Linked DNA regions of Homo sapiens: region 1 is linked to region 2. Evidence: promoter capture Hi-C in 16 types of primary human blood cells and fetal thymus (Javierre and others, 2016). All regions are on one chromosome and are shown on one strand. Each heading gives the region's core, a stretch centred on a gene start or on the middle of the fragment in contact. The rest is flanking DNA. Distances are from core to core; before and after follow the strand shown.

Region 1 (4,252 bases), core at 797-3,296, 60 kb after region 2:
CACCCACCTCCGATTTCCCTTTCTCTATTGTCCTCTTAACCTCTTGCTTCTCCCTGCTTCACCTGTGGCTCCGCTCCCTCTTTTTGCTCTTCCCCAACTGTTGCCATTGCAGTTTTAGGAATCTACGGTCAAGCTTTTCGTCATCCTCCACCATTACGAAGACCACTTGTGATGGTGAATTTTGTTTGTTAACTCAGTCAGGCCGTAACGCATGGGTGTTGGTCAAACTGTAGTCCAGATGTTGCTGTGAAGGAATTTTTTAGATGTGATTGACATTTAAATCAGTAGAGTTTGAGTAAAGCAGATAACCCTTCATGATGTGTTTGGGGAGGCCTTGTGCAACCAGCAGAAAGCCTGGCCTCAAGAAAAAAGACTGCAGTCCCGGAGTAAGAAGAACTGCTGTCTCCATACTGCCTTCAGACTCAAATTGCAACAACTCTATATCTCTCTTAGGTCTCCAGCCGGCAGGCCAGCCCCCACAATCACAGGATACAATTTCTTAAAATTAATCTCCCTCTGTGATGTAGTTTGGCTGTGTCCCCATCCAAATCTCATCTTGAATTGTAGTTCCCATAATCCCCACGTGTCATGGGAGGGACCAAGCAGAGACAATTGAATAATGGGGGCAGGCTTTTCCCGTGCTGTTCTCGTGATAGTGAATTAGTATCATGAGATCTGATGGTTTTACAAAAGGCAGTTTCCCCGTACACATCCTCTTGCCTGCCACCATGGAAGATATGCCTTTGTTCCTCCTTCGCCTTCCACCATGATTTTGAGGCCCCCAACAGCCATGCGGATCTGTGAGTCCATTAAACCTCTTTTTCTTTATAAATTACCCAGTCTCGGATATGTCTTTATTAGCAGTGTGAGGCTAGAGTAATGCTCTCTCTCTCTCTGTCTCTCTGTCCTATTGGTCTGTTTCTCTGGAAAGCCCTGTGTAATATACCACTCTCTCCACTCAAATGTTTTAATGGAAATGCACTTTCTCGCTGGAGGCTACTCATTTTCTGATCTACATACACTGGATCCTGGAGTGGAATATTTTCTCAGTACCCAGAACTCCCACCAGATGTTCTACCTTTTTTTTTTTTTTTTTAATAAAAGTTCATCTTCCATTGTGGCCCATATTCCCCAGTGAACCAAATTTCAGGTTGTGTTTCCTCATTAGTTGAGAGTTTGGACCTGTCTTAAAACTTCTTCTCTACCTTAACTCCTGTTTTAGATCGCAGCACATGGCCTGTCCTACCAGCCTGGCTTCCCAGTCTTGACCTCCCGCTCCAATGATCTGCATCTCCGCTCCTCTCCTTTCCAGCCCCAGAGTCCTGACCTAGATCTTGGCATCACTGCTTTCCATAGCAAAGTTGATGTTCTAGTCTTAGACTGGTCTCTTACTCTGTTAGTTTTCTTATGAGTAAGACTGATCTTTGATCTCACAGGTACCTCTGATCCCCTGGTCTCCCCACTTCCTTCTTTTCCCCCCTATGGCTGATCATCTGGACCACACTCCATCAACATTACCCTTGGCTGTCTTGGGTCATGACCATTCTTCACTAGATTCTATGGATTATAAGGGCAGAGTTTGTATTGCTTTTTTCCACCCTTCATATTCAGAGTAGTGCATTGCAAAAACAATAAATATTTGTCAACTGAATAAATTTCACACACATCCAATGAATTCCCAAGCCTGGCTCAATGCTACAAGTCATTGCTTTTGATCTTACACCTTGAGAAGCAGAATAGGGATAAAACAAATCACACAACCATGCTGACTTAAAAAAAAAAAACTGTAGTTTTTTAAAAACTACAACTTTACAACTAAAATTCATCGTCTTTTAACTCAGCTAGAATTCAGAGCTTCTCACCAACTCTTTCACTTGTTCTAGGTCAGCTTTTTCTTCCATGACCCTTACTACCTAGTTCACACCTCTACCCCCTCACTTCAAGCTTTCTTTTACTATTTCAGTCCCCGTTCTAACAATCTTTTAATTCCCATTTCATGAAAAAAAGTGAGACTATCAGGAATTGTGTTTTCCATGTGTCTACTTGGCTCCTGACACACTTTTAAAAACACTGTTCTGCACCTATACTGACCTCTTAACTCCTAATAAGTGGCCACTCTATCTGTTCCCAGCCTGGCAAGAAGCTTTGAGGCTAAACCCCTTCAGGACATCAGGGAGCCCCATTTTCTGCTCCTTCCCAGAAAGAGAGCTGTCACTGGGCAGCCAGGATTATGACGAAGCCAGGGATGGGGACCCGGGGAGGCGGCCTGTGACCTGACTTGGAGCACCTGCATGGTAACAGGAGCTTTTGAGGCCATCTACTTTCCTTCACTGAGCTTGTGGGAGAAGACAGGGTGTTCACGAGGCTGACATCAGTGATGTTCCAGGCTTCAGGTTATCCCCGGGGATCTGGAGGTAGAGGTTTTCAGGACAATGGTGCTGCTTTCTCGACAAGCAGAGCAACCCTCTGTTTGGTTCTTTTTGCCAAATAGACTTTCACTCCTCTCCCGTGGACCCAGGCTGCCCAGAGCATAGGAGGCAAGGCCCAGAGCCCGGGGAAGCCCCCAGGGCTTATTGCAGGGCCAGAGACTTGCCAGAGCCTGCTGTGGCCAGGCCCCACTTGAGCTGGGACTTGGGCTTCTGATTCCATTGGGTCTCATACAGACCTTTGTTTTATGGATATTTAAAAATCACAGAAATGCTAAAGGTCAGGCCTGGGACCCTTGTGACTTCTTTACTGGCCCAGTGGTCACCTCTTCCATCACAAAGGTCACTGAGTGTGGCTGGGCTGATGTGATTTACCTACCTTAAAAACCTTATGTACTATGAAGGAGAATTTAGTAATGCCTTTTTTCCTAACCTTCTTGTTTTTTTGATTTTTTTTAATCTTCTCCACCCCTGTTTTGTTACAAAACACCTCTGAGTCGGATTCTAGTCTCCCCGGAAGTCCTGGGTGGTAGAGGCTTTTCTTTGTGGTGATTATGGGCTCTCAATTAGAAATTAAGAGAGGCCTCCATAGCCAGCCCCTTTGGTCATAAAGCCATCATCTTGTCCTCTGGAAAGAGGTGATAAATGACACTCAAACAGAAGACTAGCTCTGCGGGAGACCCCGGCCCTGTGACTCTTTCTGTGTCATCTCAACCTCAGGCCAGGTGTGCACATCCCGCAGGAGCTCCAGTCACCCTTGTGAATGATCCTCATTCTCTGAAAACCAAAGAGCCTGCACATGGCTAATAGGACAAGCTGCAACTCCCCCAGAGGACTCACAAGGCCCTTTCTAGCCTGGCTCCCCACTTCCCACCTCATGCCTCTCCTGGTCCCTGGGAGTCCCCACCCCAGGCCTCTGTGCTCTGTACCCTCTTGTCTGCATTGCTCCAGAGCAGCTCAAATAACTCCCCTCTGGGAGAGTCCTCGGTGTGACCCTCTGCCCCACATTATAGGCATGTGCTCTCGGCGCTGTTCTGCAGCTGGCTCTGGGTAGCTGATGGAAAAGGGTCACCACCTGCTCATCCGTGTGCCCAGCAGCTCCCAGCACCATGCCTGATGCCAGATGGGAGCCTGGGAAGAGCTTGCTGAATAATGAAGGGGCCCTAGGTGTGCATGTGAAGGTCTGAGCAGTGCCTGGACTTGTCAGAGGCTAGAGGGGTCTGCCCAGGCCCAGGGTGGGTTTGGGTGTCTGCCTCTTTCCCGGCATCTTTTGGGAGATGCAGCGGTTGGCTGCATTGCACCACCAGTATTTGGGCAGAAGGGGTCTCTGTAGGTGCAGAACACAAGTTCTCAAGGCTGCTACAGTTGAAGGAAGCTACTTTGTAGTTGAATAGATTCAGACTTCTTGAAAACCCAGCTCATGCTCATTAACTGCTATCCTGGGAGGCACTCAGGACCTTTAGTTTCTTGAAAGCAATGCCCCCCTGCATTTGGCCTCCCATTGGAAGATATGTTTCAAGATCCCTCTCCACACAGAAGACAGTTTCTTGCCCCTCTCCTCGCATCCCAAAACTCACCTGTCCTTTTCTTTAAAATATTGTATGCAAAGGAGTTTCTCCTTGTATTTGTTTCTCCTTGCATTTGTAACAGATGTAATTGGGAAGTGATTCCTGAACTAACTTTTTCTCCTATTGTTACAGGTTAATGTCAACAATCAGAATACTAATATAGTAAGAGTTAATTAATTTTTTGGATTCATACATAATTTTTAAGTAATATGCCAACTGTCCAAATACTATGTACTGGTTTTCTTGCCTATTAATTTG
Region 2 (4,326 bases), core at 1,581-4,080:
AAGGGCTTCTGTGAAGAAATCCAGACTTCCCTGGCTTCCTGCACCAAATACCACCTAAGTGCCAAGACCCACAGGTATTTTGAAATATAGACATGACTTATATTTGAGGAAGAACTATGCAGGTGCATAAAATCACATCCTAGAATCACTCAAACCTGATTTTTCCAGGCAGTTCAAACTGGAAATGGACACCCTGGATTTGTGTACACAAATTAGATTCTCTCTAGAGTGTCGTCAACCTCGATCAGTGTAGGGCTGGATTTAGTGCACATACAGGCAAGTGTTCTTGTAAACACATATGAGCACATTTTAGGCACTGAGAAGATTGGTTAGATACTACTGTAGAGGTAACCTAGTTCCACTGTTTCATTTTTGTGATGACTATGAATCTCAAACAGGCTTAATGGACGGTTCATTCTCACCAAGAGAGCAGAAGAATGCTGGCCTCTCTCCTGGTCCACTGTCCTCTCCAAGCACAGTATTTGAACTATTGTGGGAACAGGATCTGGAAACCCCAAGATCCAGAGGTCACATGCGAACAGAAAACTGTGGCTTTCACACAACTTAAACACCAACACACACACTAAAGGCTCAATCTTGCAGAATGCTTGGAGACTGAAGGTAGCTCTGTGGGGACTCAGCCTAGCCAGGTAACTTAGGTGAATGACAGGTTGCTCACAGGGAGGGTTTGGAGGAGCTCATGGCTCCTACCACCCACAAAAAAAGGAAGGACTTTCACTCCCATCCTTGGCCTGAAGTGTCAGGTTCCTGCTCTAAGCCTGTTCTCGAGGCCTGCCATGCCAATCCCTGTGTGTATCTAAAGAGGTTAGCACATCCTGGGTACACAGACCACAGCTTCCTCCTTTTGCTCAGGGCCTGTGCGTAGAGTTTAAGCAGTGTGGAGATATTTCTTCACTTTTCCTTAGGGTGTCCACATCAAGACCCTGAGGCCATCTTACCACCCTTCTGGATCAGAAGAGGCCTTCAGAGTAAGTGGTAACTGTCCTGATTGGGGCGAGGGAGTTTTCTAGAGGGGAGCATCTCATTACTAAACCCAGAAATACAGAGACACTTGCATGAACACATCAACAGGAAGCAGAGAAACAGGCATAAAATGGCCCAATGACCCCCACTCTCGGGTCTTTGCAGGAATCCCCTCTCACCTACTTCTCACCTACTCACTTTGGGTTTGAGGAACCCAGGCTCTTATAGGCTCTTATAGCTCCCTTTAACCCATCACAGTCAGTTATCTCATCTCCAGATTTGCAAGTTCCTTCGGTTGGTGTCTTTTACCTAAGTCAGCATATTTCAAACTTTCATAAAAAAAACTTAGAAAATAAAAACCACGACCCCACCCAGAAGATAAAAATCTCTTGAATTCTCTGAGCCCAACATCTTAGCCTTCTCTTGCTGAGCCCTGAGCAGGGAGTCGATTCTTTCGGGTTCTGGGGAATGGCGGGCTCTGCCAGTCCCCACCTCGCCAGCCTAATAGTTTTTCCAGACAGACTCCCGCTTGGTGTTGCGCGGCAGCCTCGAAGCTAACCCCTGGTCCCATTCATTCCCCTAGGTCCTCTAAGGCCCGTCACGTTAGGGGGTGTCCCTCCTCTCTGCTCCTGGCCCTACTTGGCGAACCCTTTCAGAGACAGCAGTCAACTTTTCTGAAGTGAGACGCGAACCCAAACCCTCACCTTTCCGCCTGGGTTGCACTTTGCAACCTAGACCCAGGCTTGGCGGCGGCGGCTGGGGTGGGAATGGCCGGGCGGGCGCGGGGCGCGGGCTCACAGCCGGCCCCTGCAACGGAGGCGGCTCCGAAGGACGCAGGACCCTTTCGGAGGCGACAGCTCCAGGAGCCCTGGTCCTGGAGCCGGCGCACGCCTAGGCGCGAAGGGCGGGGGCTCGGGGCGCTAGGGATCTGTGCGGACGGGGGCTGGGGAAGGTTCCCCGCCGGAGAGGCGGCGAGGCCGGCCCAGGAGTCCCGCGGAGCCGGCGGCTCTCCAGCGCCTAGAGCCGGGCGACTGAGTGCCGAGAGGAAGGGAAAGCGCTGACATGTAAACAGGGGCTTCCATCTGGAGGAGCCCGCTCAGATAGATCCCCCGACACACTCACTTGCACCCCTACCCTCGTGCAACGAGGCCACTTACCCACCCCAGGGCCCACCAGGCAGGGACCCGAGCCCGGGCGACTGCAGCCCCCGCCCCCGCCGTGTTCCGCCTCTGCGGAGAGGAAGCCCAGTGCCTAGCGCTGGGGCCACGGGAGCCCCGGGTGTCGGTGGGAGTGGTGGACCCCGAGGTCTCTCGCCCTTGACTCCGTTCCGTACCCTGGGGTCCCCCGGTTTCCCGCCGTCCCCTCCTGCAGCCCCGGCGGGCAGCGAGGTGGGAGGGGGGCCGGGGCTCCACTTTGGGGGCTGGGATTTCGGGGGAGGGTCGCCCTCAATGCGGGCGCCTGGCCGGCTGGCCCGCGAGTAGGACTCGCCACCCGAGCGCCGGAGGAGCCGGCGCGAAGCCGGGGCGCGGAGGGAAGGGAGAGAGGCCACGTCTTCCGGGACGCGGGCCCCGCACCTACCCGCCCGCCGCTTCGCCTCCCCGGCCGGTCCCCGCCGCCCGCGTCCGTTGCCCCGCCGCTTACCTTAATAGTCCCGTCCATTTGGCCAAGTCTGCAGCCGAGCCCCCCAATATTCCACACATTGACCCGGTTACAGCCTGACCTCGCAGCCCCTTCGGATTAGCCCGGCGCGGCCTCCCTGGCGCCCTGGGCCCTCCCTGCGTGCCCCCTGCGAGCGCCCTGCCCTCACTCCCCTGTGCACGTTTGTTGTTGTAGCGGAGCGAAAGAGACAGTTAACCGGATGAAACTTTTTTTTCAGCTAATTTTGGGAAGTGACTTCACTTTGCGAATCGGGGAGGAAGTCCTATCTCTCTCTCTCTCTCTCTCTCTCTCTCTCTCTCTCTCTCTCTCTCTCTCTCGCCTCGAGCTCTCCTCTCTCTTCTCTCCCCTCTGCTCTCCCTCGTCTTCCCTCCCCCCCCACACCCCCTCTTCCTCCCCTGCTGGTCCTGCTTTTCGCATCACACACTATATAAATATACGCGGAGATGCCCAGACACATTCATGCGCTGCGCACACAGGATACTTGCTCCTGGGAGATAAGAGCTAGCCGGGAACAATGACGGGGTCCACGCCCAGCGTCCGCGCCCTGATTCCCGAAGTCTGAACCTCCCCCCATCACCTTCCCCCAAAATCCAAAGCCAAAGACCTTTGGCTTCTTTGCTTTTCCTGAGGCGGTTGGCCGAAGGTGGCCCTCCTGACTCATTCACTTTCCGTTTCTTCCCACAGATACGTTCATTAATGCTTTTTCCAGCCGGAGACAAACTTTTTGGGGGTGGGGTAGGGGGGGTATGGAGGGAGAGTTGGCTAGGGCTGCGGGTAACCCAGCGCCTACTGCCGGGGAAGACTCGGACGAAAACCGAGGCAAACCAACCATTAAAAAGTGCATCCAATAAGAATTTTTCCACTCAGGCCCTCCGCTGCCGAGACGCGGCAGACTCCCAGAGCGGCTCACCCACTCATCGAAGCGGATTCTGGGCGGTTTCGGGCTGACCCGCGCTGTCAGGGCGCGGACTCCATTCCGGGCGCATTGTTAGGAGAAGGGGCCCCTCGGGGCGGCGCGCCTCGACCCTGGGCTCCCGGTGCCCGCAGAGGGCGGAGATCCGCGGCGCCCTAGGCCACCTATCCGCATCTTCTCGAGCCAAACCCCCAGCGCTTACCCGGACCCGACGGCCCAAGCACTGACTCCCAGGCAAGAGTCGCCCTTCCTGGTCCCCAGGGAACTGACACTACCGCGGGACGTTCCCTCTAGGACAGTCAGCAGGTCCCAGGAGCGCAGCACGCAACAGCGCAGAGCAGACCCAGACTTTTCCCGGGGTGAGACCCGGAGGCCCGCGCTCTGGACCGTCCTCCCTACCCAGCCTGGAGGCCGGCGTTCCCCGGCCCAACCCGGAGACCTCCCCGCCTCCCTCCTGGGCCGCCGCGCGCCCCAGTTGGAGCAGCCTCGAGGGGCTGGGCCCTTTCGGCCGGACTCCCTTCTCCCGGACATCCAAAACAGGTTACCTTGTCCACGCTCTCCGGACCACGCTTTGGACTTGCTCACTTTTATTTAAGAGTCCGACGGGGGAAAGAGGGAAAAAAAATCCAGAGGAGATCCAAGTCAATTGGAAGAAAAAATTTCAAAAGGGTGTCCACAGAGGCGAAAAAAGGTGACTTATTAATTCTTTATTTCTTCAGGAGCAATTGAGCCCGAGAGCTCACTCGTCTCCCTCCCTCCCCCTCCCTCTC

Evidence for each region. Contacts are between HindIII fragments. The CHiCAGO score rates a contact against its expected background, and 5 or more counts as called.
Region 1: a contact is called between a fragment that was not itself captured here and the fragment with the promoter of FLI1 in region 2, in 8 of 17 cell types (naive B cells, total CD8 T cells, activated CD4 T cells and 5 more). The highest score is 7.8, in naive B cells.

Annotation. Positions count from the first base shown.
Region 1 is chr11:128,631,809-128,636,060 of GRCh38, reverse strand. No RefSeq gene overlaps it. Among named protein-coding and RNA genes, the nearest start is that of ETS1, 46 kb to the right of the region's middle. The HindIII fragment of the contact is 199 bases long and covers 1,947-2,145 here.
Region 2 is chr11:128,692,576-128,696,901 of GRCh38, reverse strand. It overlaps FLI1 (Fli-1 proto-oncogene, ETS transcription factor), which reads right to left and starts at 2,830. Exons shown (of 9, transcript NM_002017.5): 1 at 2,626-2,830. The coding sequence starts at 2,643. It overlaps SENCR (smooth muscle and endothelial cell enriched migration/differentiation-associated lncRNA), which reads left to right and starts at 879. Exons shown (of 3, transcript NR_038908.1): 1 at 879-989; 2 at 3,511-4,247. RefSeq lists silencers at 1,799-1,928, 1,979-2,198, 2,239-2,288, 2,509-2,878, 3,562-3,701 and 1 more and a cis regulatory region at 2,610-3,342. The HindIII fragment of the contact is 9,137 bases long and covers 1-4,326 here.